Linked DNA regions of Homo sapiens: all the other regions are linked to region 1. Evidence: promoter capture Hi-C in 16 types of primary human blood cells and fetal thymus (Javierre and others, 2016). All regions are on one chromosome and are shown on one strand. The core of a region is centred on a gene start or on the middle of the fragment in contact, and the rest is flanking DNA. Distances in the headings are between cores, read along the strand shown.

The links. Contacts are between HindIII fragments. The CHiCAGO score rates a contact against its expected background, and 5 or more counts as called.
Region 2: a fragment that was not itself captured here is called in contact with the fragment with the promoter of PAPOLG in region 1 in 1 of 17 cell types (activated CD4 T cells); the score reaches 5.4 in activated CD4 T cells.
Region 3: a fragment that was not itself captured here is called in contact with the fragment with the promoter of PAPOLG in region 1 in 1 of 17 cell types (neutrophils); the score reaches 6.1 in neutrophils.

Annotation. Positions count from the first base shown.
Region 1 is chr2:60,754,124-60,757,757 of GRCh38, forward strand. It overlaps PAPOLG (poly(A) polymerase gamma), which reads left to right and starts at 2,145. Exons shown (of 22, transcript NM_022894.4): 1 at 2,145-2,372. The coding sequence starts at 2,356. RefSeq lists an enhancer at 2,061-2,370. The HindIII fragment of the contact is 3,911 bases long and covers 1,698-3,634 here.
Region 2 is chr2:61,044,225-61,047,888 of GRCh38, forward strand. PEX13 (peroxisomal biogenesis factor 13) reads left to right here. Exons shown (of 4, transcript NM_002618.4): 3 at 1,502-1,627. Among named protein-coding and RNA genes, the nearest start is that of SANBR, 20 kb to the right of the region's middle. The HindIII fragment of the contact is 3,009 bases long and covers 667-3,664 here.
Region 3 is chr2:61,092,306-61,095,458 of GRCh38, forward strand. It overlaps SANBR (SANT and BTB domain regulator of CSR), which reads left to right. Exons shown (of 22, transcript NM_001129993.3): 11 at 159-282. Among named protein-coding and RNA genes, the nearest start is that of SANBR, 28 kb to the left of the region's middle. The HindIII fragment of the contact is 3,119 bases long and covers 1-2,881 here.

The DNA.
Region 1 (3,634 bases), core at 895-3,394:
CTTTGGGAGGCTGAGGCTGGCGGATCACGAGGTCAGGAGTTCAAGACTAGCCTGACCAATATGGTGAAACCCTGTCTGTACTAAAAATACAAAAATTAGGCTGGAAGCGGTGGCTCACGCCTGTAATCCCAGCACTTTGGGAGGCTGAGATGTGCGGCCAACATGGTGAAAGTCCATCTCTAAAATACAAAAAATTAGCCAGGCGTGGTGGCGCACGCCTGTAGTCCCAGCTACTCGGGAGGCTGAGACAGGAGAATCATTTGAACCCAGGAGGCAGAGGATGCAGTGAGCCAAGATCATGCCACTGTGCTGCAGCCTAGGTGACAGAGCAAGACTCCATCTCAAAAATAAATAAATAAATAAATAATAAAACACTGCTTGGCTGGGTGTGGTGGCTCACATCTGTAATCCTAGCACTTTGGGAAGCCGAGGTGGGCGGATTACCTGATGTCAGGAGTTTGAGACTAGCTGGCCCACATGGTGAAACCCCGTCTGTACTAAAAATACAAAAATATAGCTGGACGTGGTGGTGCATGCCTGTAATCCCACCTACTCAGGAGGCTGAGCAGAGATCACGCCACTGCACCCCAGCCTGGGCAACAGAGCGAGACTCCATCTCAAAAAAACCTCTGCCTCTCGGGTTCACGCAATTCTCCTGCCTCACCCTGCTGAGTAGCCGGGATCACAGGCGCACCACGCACCCAGCTAGTTTTTCTATTTTTAGTAGAGATGGGGTTTCACCATGTTGGCCAGGCTGGTCTCGAACTCCTGACCTCAAGTGATCCACCCGCCTCAGCCTCCCAAAATGTTAGGATTACAGGTGTGATCCACCACACCAGGCCACGTCAGGTTTTTGTTGTTGCTTTTAAGTAGAGATGGGTTTTTGCCATGTTGGCCAGGCTGGTCTTAATAGAACTCATGGCCTCAAGTGATCCACCAGCCTTGGCGTCACAAAGCACTGGGATTGCAGGCAAGAGCCACTGCACCTTGCTCAGGTTTTCAAAAATATGTTTTGTAGTTTTTATTTATTTATTTATTTATTTATTTTTTTGAGACAGGGTCTCCTTCTATCACTCTGGCTGGAATGCAGTGGTGCCATCCTGGTTTCCTGCAGCCTCCACGTCCTGGACTCAAAGAGATCCTCCCACCCCAGCCTCCTGAGTAGCTGGGACTACAGGCATGGGCCACCATGCCCAGCTAATTTTTTTAAAACTTTTTGTAGTGACAGGGTCTCACTATGTTGCCCAGGCTGTTCTCGAACTCCTGGCCTCAAGCAATTCTCCCACCTTGGCCTCCCAAAGTGCTGGGATTACAGGTGTGAGCCACTGTATCTTGCCTCAATAAATATTTTTTAATGAATTAATCAGCAAGTAATCTCCTCTATTTACTGTGACTCTGAGTTATGTTCAAGAGCAAGCAGTTCTTGACTTCCTTTTCTTTGTAATGATTTAGTGCTTGAAATTACTTCTACCTTTCAGCATTTTAAAATTGGTTATTATTTTCTCATTTTCATCCCCACACTCACATCGAACATGATTTCCACTATTTAAAAGTGTAAGATTTTTGTTTCAGCCTGGGATTTATCCTATTGCAAACTGCTAGCTACTATTTTCAACCTCTGTCAGCTAAATGCCAGAATGTCACTAATCAAAGGTGGTACTTAGGGGTGAAGTGAACAGTTAAGCCTCCAATTTACAAGCTTGTTTTTCCCTGGGATACTTGTGTGAAAGTCGTATGTTCCTGGGTGTGACCCTTTCGAGACAAAATCTCAACTGGTGAGTTAATTATGTATAACTATAATTAAATCAAAGATGTAGGATAACGGAGGCGTTGAAATAGTTTTTGCTAGGCAAGGGTGTGACCTTTTTAAAAAATGTATGATATATGCTGCCATTCGAGAGGCAAGGAAAACATATCTCCAAATTTCCTTCCAAGCGGTCTACCGGCATTGACAGTACCGCGGACAAAGGAGAGTACCAAATAAATACTCCTTCGAACCAACGGTATACTGAGAGCCCTGAGCTTGTGGGCGGGGCCCCGGAGCCTCCCGGGACCTAAAGGCAGAGGGGGCGTGGCTGAGGGTGGTCCAGACCTCCAGGGGCGGGGCTGAGACCTGCGAGAGGCAGGCTGGGAAGCGGCGCCATATTGGCGTCGGCCGCGCTGTATTGTCATAAATAGAGCCGGTTTTGTGGTGTTTTCACTACTCGGTTGGATGCCTCAGCCATAGTAAGTGGGAAAGTGAGCGAGCAAGCGAGCTACTAGCGACCGGAGGAAAGTGAACAGGGGGAGAAGGGAACAGCAAGAACAGGACTCCAGAGCGATAAACACTCGCTGGAGAGGGAGACGCAGGAAGCGATGAAAGAGATGTCTGCGTAAGTGGTGGGGGGCGGCGGTTGGGGTGAGGCGGGTAGGGGTGAGCTGAGGTGGTCCGACTGTGTCCTTGTTTCCGTTCCCTGTCCCTTGCGCCCTGCACGCAGCTCGCCGGGATGGTCTCCTTCCCGGCTCCCGGCCGGTCCGCAAGGGCACCTCCCCTAAACCCGGCGGCTCACCTGGCCACCCCTGCACGGACTCGGGGACTCCGGGAGTCCCCAGCTGTCCCGCCTCCGAGGACGCCCTCAGAAAAGGATGAGGAGGGAAAGAGGTGCCTGTGTCCGTAGGGAGAAATTGTCGGTCACTCGCCTGCCCCCAGCACTGTCTGAGCCCGTCTGCTCCTGTCTGCATTGGCGCAAATACCATCCCCCTGCCTCCCCCTCCTCCCTTCCCGACCGGCTGTCTCCAGGTCTTCAGGAGTGAAAGACCTATCGCAGCCCAAGGGTTTCTCTTTCATATGAGGCTACAGTCTTTTCACCGCCGTCCCCACCCTCTCCCTCACCCCCTGCTTCCCCACCTACCCACAACATCTACCGGTCTGTACCTCTTGTTCACACTTTGATAAGTCAGAAACAGTTCCCGTACTTGGCAAGATTTTGTTGTAGCTTCTTCCATTTTGGTCTATTAGGAAATAATTTAAACATGCAGAAAAATGTAGAGAATAACATAAGCATCATTTGTGGAGCCACCACCCATTTCTCCCAAAACGTAACTGTACACACATACACGTACATGCACACACGCACACACACGGTGTGTATATACGTATCTGTGTATTTATTTTAAAAAGAAATCAAGCATTCCAGATACATCTGAAGGACTCTCCTACCTCCTTCTCTGGTCCCAATCATCTCTTGCTCCAGATGTCTCCACAGTCTTGAATTTGATGTTTATCGTTGCTGCCTGTTTTTTATTTTACTTCTTTTTTTTCCGCCCTCGAATCATGGGAGCTGCATGTTTTTTAATGCTATTACTACATACACATGTGTTCATAATAACTGGCATAGTTCTAGTTGTTTTTAAACTTTATATAACTCGTATCACACTTGGAATTCTGTAACTTCTTTAGCACAACATAGTATCTCTGAGCTTTGTTCATGTTAGTATTTTAGTTGTAATTAATTAATATTAATTATTGTATTGTATTCTATTGTAGGAAAACACCCTAATTTAATTCTTTTCCTGTTAGTGACTATTTTATTTCTAAGTTTTTAATGTTACAATGTGACAGTGAACGTTCTTTTAGGTGTCTCTTTGTACGCTT
Region 2 (3,664 bases), core at 921-3,420, 290 kb after region 1:
ACAGGCATGAACCACCATGTCCAGCCCAGACTTAGTTATATTCTTTGTTGTTGTTTTCTTTTTGAGACAGGGCCTCACTCAGTTGCCCAGGCTGGAGTGCGTAGTGCAGTCTCGGCTCACTGCAACCTCTGCCTCCCAGGTTCAAGCGATTCAAGCTGAGACTATAGGCGCGTGCCACCACATCTGCCTAATTTTGTTTATTTTTTTGTAGAAACAAGGTTTCCCTATGTTGCCCAGGTTGGTCTTGAACTGCTGGACTCATGCAATTTCCCCTGTCTCAGCCTCTCAAAGTACTGGGATTATAGGCATGCGCCACCATGCCCGGCTAATTTTGTATTTTTAGTAGTAATGGAGTTTCTCCATGTTGGTCAGGCTGGTCTCAAACTCCCGACCTCAGGAGATCCACCCGCCTCGGCCTCCCAAAGTGCTGAGATTACAGGTGTGAACCACCACGCCTGACCTATATTCTTAAGTAATTCAAACGGAAACCACAAAGCAGAACAGTGCTTATATGCAAAACTTATGCTGGAGTAAAGTTTTGACAACACCTAATACAGTTTGACTCACAAGTAATGTCACACTGCTTTATAGACCTCTCAGACTGTCAGAAGTTAACACAAGCAGTATCTCCATTCCCACGCAAGTTGGCAGCAGATACATTTTCCAAGCTTAAGCTATTAATACAATGCCAGAGCATTTTTTGGACCTCCATGCAAGCACAAAGGAAATTTCCATATTTCAAAATCCATTTAACTATGCAATTGAGGAACTTCCACTTAATCTTCATTTGGAAGTGATTAATCTGCAATGTAATAACATGGTAAAAGGCAAATATCAAGAGAAGAATTTAACAGAATTATATTCTGGCCTATTACTCTCCCAACTAATAAATATGCTCAATTAAAACCACATACTCATAGACTCATATTAGGATTTGACATTACCTATCTGTGTGAAAAGGCATTTTCAAAAATGCAGTACCTCAAATTTTATTACAAATTAGAATTAGCAAGTGAATATTTATAATTGATTTCCAATTAAGTGAAATATCCTTCCCCCAAAATATTTCATTCTTCTAAGTAACTTCCAAATAGACCTGTATTACCAAAAAGAAACATGGTTATTATATTTTTAATCTTGTCAATAAATTTATGGAAATTTTGTTTCCTCTTTTTATAAAAGTAATTGCCCAATATCCTGTTTTGCCTCTTGGCTTTCAAAGTCTAAAATATTAACTATCTGACCCTTTTCAGAAAAAATTTGCCAACCCCTGGCTCACGGTAAGAGAGCGGGAAGTTGGAGCTTAAAGAAAGGAAAAAGTTCATAATAGGTATCTTTAGTGGATCTATTGTTGATTTAACATAGTATTCATTATAGTTTTTACTTGGGAGGGGAGGACTTTTCTCTTGGCAAATTTATGCAGTTTGCAAGCCATAGCCAGTGAAATATCTGCATTTTTCTTTTGTAAATTTTATTAACCTAATTTTAATTTGGCTTATAGACAGCATCAACTGGGCAAGTGGTGAGGATGACCATGTAGTTGCCAGAGCAGAATATGATTTTGCTGCCGTATCTGAAGAAGAAATTTCTTTCCGGGCTGGTGATATGCTGAACTTAGCTCTCAAAGGTAATAAATTATGAATAAGTTGGAATTATCTGTAAATTTTGATATTCATAAATGCAGTATTAAAAACTACAACAAAGGATCTTGTTCATTGTTAGTTAACTTAGAGATAGTTACTAGAACTTCTTTTTCATGTCAATTTAGAGCTTCCAAATCTGGAGGAGTCAGGAAGAAATGCCCCAGCAGAGTTATTCGAATACTATTTCACTGAGATAAGGAAAGGCTTTGTTTATATAGGCTTTTCTAAACTCAAAATACTTGAATTTCAAACTGTTAATCCCCACACAAAAACGTGATGTCAGTAACTAAACATAACAAATCTAATAAAGCAAAGGAATTATGTAACATCATCTAAGCATTGCTGTTAGTCCTTGTGGACTGGTGTTGCTTCTTTATTACTTCAGCAGTGTTTACCTCAGAAATTTCATCATAAGTATTTTAGGAAATAGTGTCATGAAGTATTATAGAACCCCAGCAAGAGATTTATACGCATCTCGGGTTTATTTTTGGACCAAGTCACTGATACTTTTTAATGACTCTAGGCAAAATGACCTTTTCCTTCACCCTTCCTGAGTAATGATTATCAGGATTTTTATGGATTTTTTTAAATATGTGTATTTATGGGGATTCAAGTTTATTGCAAAAAGTGATGTTTTGTTGATAAAGGTACTAATAACAATAACATGTTATTTATTGAGTACTTACTATGTACAAGGTACTGTATTTTACATATTTCATTTAAGCCTTACAATAATACGGTGAAGTGGTACTATTATTATCCTGTCATTGTTTTACCCTTGAAGAAACTGAGACTCAGAATAAGTAAATTGTCCAGTATCACAAAGCAAAGGTGCAATAGAACTGGACTATGAATCTAGGTTTGTCTAACTTGAGACCTTGTGCTTTTAACAACTCTGGCTGTTTTTTCATGGAAGGATCTATTTATGGAAACTTCACCCTTTTTTTGGTTTTAGTCATTTTTTGCAGGGAAGAAATACTTTCAATGTTCAAATCATTACTATGTAAATAATTGAAAATTTTGGATGAGATTACTAAATCTTTGCCTCATCCCTTTTACAAAAAACCTAGACTTAAGCGAGGTGCAGTGTGTGCACCTATAGTCCCACCTACTCAAGGGGCTGAGGCAGAAGGATCACTTGAGGCCAGGAGTTTGAGGCTGTAGTACATTGTAATCACACCTGTGGAACAGCACCACTGCACTCCAGCCTGGGCAACGTAGTGTAACCTTGTCTCAAGAAAAAAAAAACAAACCTCTAGACTTTTAGGTATTCTATTTGTATTTTTCTTTCTTTTTTTTTTGTTTTGAGACAGAGTCTAGCTCTGTTGCTCAGGCTCGAGTGCAGTGGCACGATCTTGGCTCACTGCAACCTCCGCCTCCCGGGTTCAAGTGATTCTCCTGCCTCAGCCTCCTGAGTTGCTGGGACTACAGGCACATGCCACCACGACCAGCTAGTTTTTGTATTTTTAGTAGAGACAGGCGTTCACCATGTTGGTCAGGCTGGTCTCGAACTCCTGACCTTGTGATCCGCCCGACTTGGCCTCCCAAGGTGCTGGAATTACAGATGTGTACCACCACGCTGGGCCTATTCATATTTTTCTTATAGGGAAAATAGCAATTTACTATTTTGGATTTCAAACGAATGATTTTTTAAAGATTTGTTGTTAGAGACAGGAACAACACAGATAATTTTAATTAGAGGTCATGTGGTTTCTTTCAGTTACATAACACTTCAGAAAAATTTTATATTTCATTATTCTTCAATGAATAGTGCCTCTTAACACTAGCTTGCTTCTTGGCTTTCCTCCATTGCTCAAGAAAAGTATGTTTGGGCCTTTGGAACAAAATCGGTCGTAGACATGGTAAATTTGTTTTTTCCTGTTATTATAGAGCATTAAACATTAAAAAGTCTTATATTGTGCCTAAATTATAATGTTGAACTAAAATTGTAACAGTTAAGCAGCTTTTTAAAGATATAGATAAAATAGGAAAATACAATAGAAAATTGAGTACATTAAATA
Region 3 (3,153 bases), core at 72-2,571, 340 kb after region 1:
TCCTGGAGGTGGTGGTTACAGTGAGCCAAGATCATGCCATTGCACTCCAGCCTGGGCAACAAGAGTGAAACTCCATCTCAAAGAAGATAATAATTAAATAAATAAATAAAACAAATTGTTTATATCACTTGCTTGTAAAATTGAGGCTCTTTCTCCAGAGATAAGACATGGGATGTTCATGAGTATTTGAATAGTCTTTTCGAAGAATTAAAATCTTGGAGAGATGTATACTGGCGATTGTGGGGAACAATCAATTGGCTGACTTGTTCAAGATGTTATCAGGTAAGATTTTTTTTTTTAAATATCCTGCTCTGCAAATATTGAGAGCAAGATTATTTTGATATCTGCTGTTTAATTGATATGTTTAAATGTGTTTTGACAATATCCAACATCTTTTTAAAGAAACTAGTGGCAGCTGGGCATGGTGGCTCGTGCCTGTAATCCCAGCACATTTAGAGACCAAGGCAGGTGGATCGTTTTAGCCCAGGAGTTCAATACCAGCCTGGGTGACATAGTGAGACTCCATCTCTTAAAAAAATGAAACTAGGCCCGGTATGGTGGCTCATGCCTCTAATTCCAGCACTTTGGGAGGCCGAGGTGGGCGGATCACGAGGTCAGGAAATCAAGACCATCCTATCTAACATGGTGAAACCCCATCTCTAGTAAAAATACGAAAAATTACCCGGTTGTGGTGGCACATGCCTGTAATCCCAGCTATTCGGGAGGCTGAGGCAGGAGAATCACTTGAACCCGGGAGGCAGAGATTGCAGAGAGCTGAGATCGTGCCACTGCACTCCAGCCTGGGTGACAGAGCAAGACTCCATCTCAAAAATAAAATAAAATAAAATATAAAAATAAAATAAAACTAGTGGCAAAAGCAATGGTGCTGTTAAACATTTTTTGCATCTGGTTTCATTTCTCTTGACATTGTTTCTTCTTTCTCTTTTTTTATTTCCATTCCTGAAACAATCAAAGACTTGTTGAATTTTTAGAAAAGCAACAGGTTTTGGCCAGGCACGGTGGCTCACGCCTGTAATCCCAGCACTTTGGGAGGTTGAGGCAGGTGGATCACCTGAGGTCAGGAATTCCAGACCAGCCTGACCAACATGGAGAAACCTCATCTCTACTAAAAACGCAAAATTAGCCAGGCGTGGTGGCGCATGCCTGTAATCCCAGCTACTCAGTGGGCTGAAGTGGGAGAATCACTTGAACCCGGGAGGCAGAGGTTGCGGTGAGCTGAGATTGCGCCATTGCACTCCAGTCTGGGAAAGGAGGGAAACTCTGTCTCAAAAGAGAAAAAAAAAAAAGTCACTTGTTTTAAGTGATCAAATCCAGTTTTTCAGTGAAAACAATTATTAAAAAATCCTTATTGCCTTCACTTGTTTCCAGCCAAACTATTTTCTCTGTTGTTCTATACACTTCTATAGAAATTCAGAAGCACCTTTGCAGATAGGATGCTATTGATATGTGCCTTTGTTGTTACAACAATTTTGTTCCCAAAAAGTTTTTGTTTTTTAATTAATGTTTATAATAAAAGCATAAGAAAACTTGCTACTTGTAGGAACCTATAATAAACCCTTTTGTGGAATAAATAGGTTTTTCTAAGTCACAGTCATTCCTAATTAATCTTATGTATAAATGCAGAGTTTTCGACAAATAATTTCTTTTGAATCCCTAAAGTTTTCCTCTCCCCAGTAATTTTCCTCTGTCACTTGCGTAATGATTTTCAATAGAGGGAAGGAAGAACAGCTTGTCAAAATCTTCAGATTGGGATTTTAAACTGTTTAAGTTCCCACTCAATGGGTTCTGTGTTCCCACAATTTTAAAAAGGTTTGTTGAAGTATTATATACAGTAAAATGCATCCTTTTTGTGAGTTTCGACAGTGCTTACAATTGTATAACTACCTCCGCAATCAAAGCATGTAACACTTCCATCACCCTAAAAGAAATTTCTTTGTGCCGCTCTTTAGTCAATTAATTCCCCCACCCTAGCCTCTGGTAACCACTGGTCTGTTTTCTCTATATATAGTTTTGCCTTTTCCAGAACGTCATATAAATAGGATCATATAGCATTTAGCTTTTTGAATCTAGCTTCCTTCACTTCGAATAATGGATGTAAAATCTATCCATGTTGTTTCATAAATTAGTTTGTTCTTTTTTATGGCTAAGTAGTAGTCTGTTGTATGACTATATCACAGTATGTTCAGACATTCACCAGTTGGAGGATGTTTGTGGTCTAGTGTGGAGCCATTATGAAGAAAGCTGCTATAAACAATACAGGTTTTCCTGTGAACATAGGTTTTTATTTCTCTTGGATGTATTTATTTCTCTTCTTTTTTTTTTTTTTTTTTTTTTGAGATGGAGTTTCACTCTTGTTGCCCAACCTGGAGTGCGCTGGCGCCATCTTGGCTCACTGCAACCTCCACCTCCCAGGTTCAAGCGATTCTCCTGTCTCAGCCTCCTGAGTAGCTGGGATTACTGGCATGCGCCACATCACCCGCCTAATTTTTTGTATTTTTAGTAGAAATGGGGTTTCACCAGGTTAGCCAGGCTGGTCTCAAACTCCTGACCTCAGGTGATCCGCCTGCCTTGGCCTCCCAAAGTGCTGGGATTATAGGCCTGAGCCACTGCGCCCGGCCTCTCTTCTTTCTTATTACCTAGGAGTAGGATTGCTGGTTTGTGTGGTAGTTTAACACTTGCCATGCCTAATAGTTTTCCAAAGTCCCGGAACCATTTTGCATTTCTACCAGCTACATATGAGAGTTCTAGTTGCCCCCCATCTCAGTAGCAATTGATATAGTCAGGTTTGGGTTTTTTGTTAATCTAATAGGTGTGTAAAGGTCCTCCTCACAATCGGAGTGTGACATAATCAAGGATATCAAGCTTCTAAAATCTGACTTGCTTAACATGTCAGAATGCAGAAACTTTGAGAGATTATTTTCCTCTCCTTTACAGCAAATTGAATATTGATTGATGATATTGACTATTTATTATAGAGCTCATAAACTCATAAAATGGTTTGTATGCAGAATATTGTATATAAGAGAACGTGCACCTTATAGTTTTTATAGGTTCTCAAATTTTTAAAATTAAAAACCATTATGTGAACATCACAATTGAAACTAACAACCAAAAATTCTGAATTATAGGCAG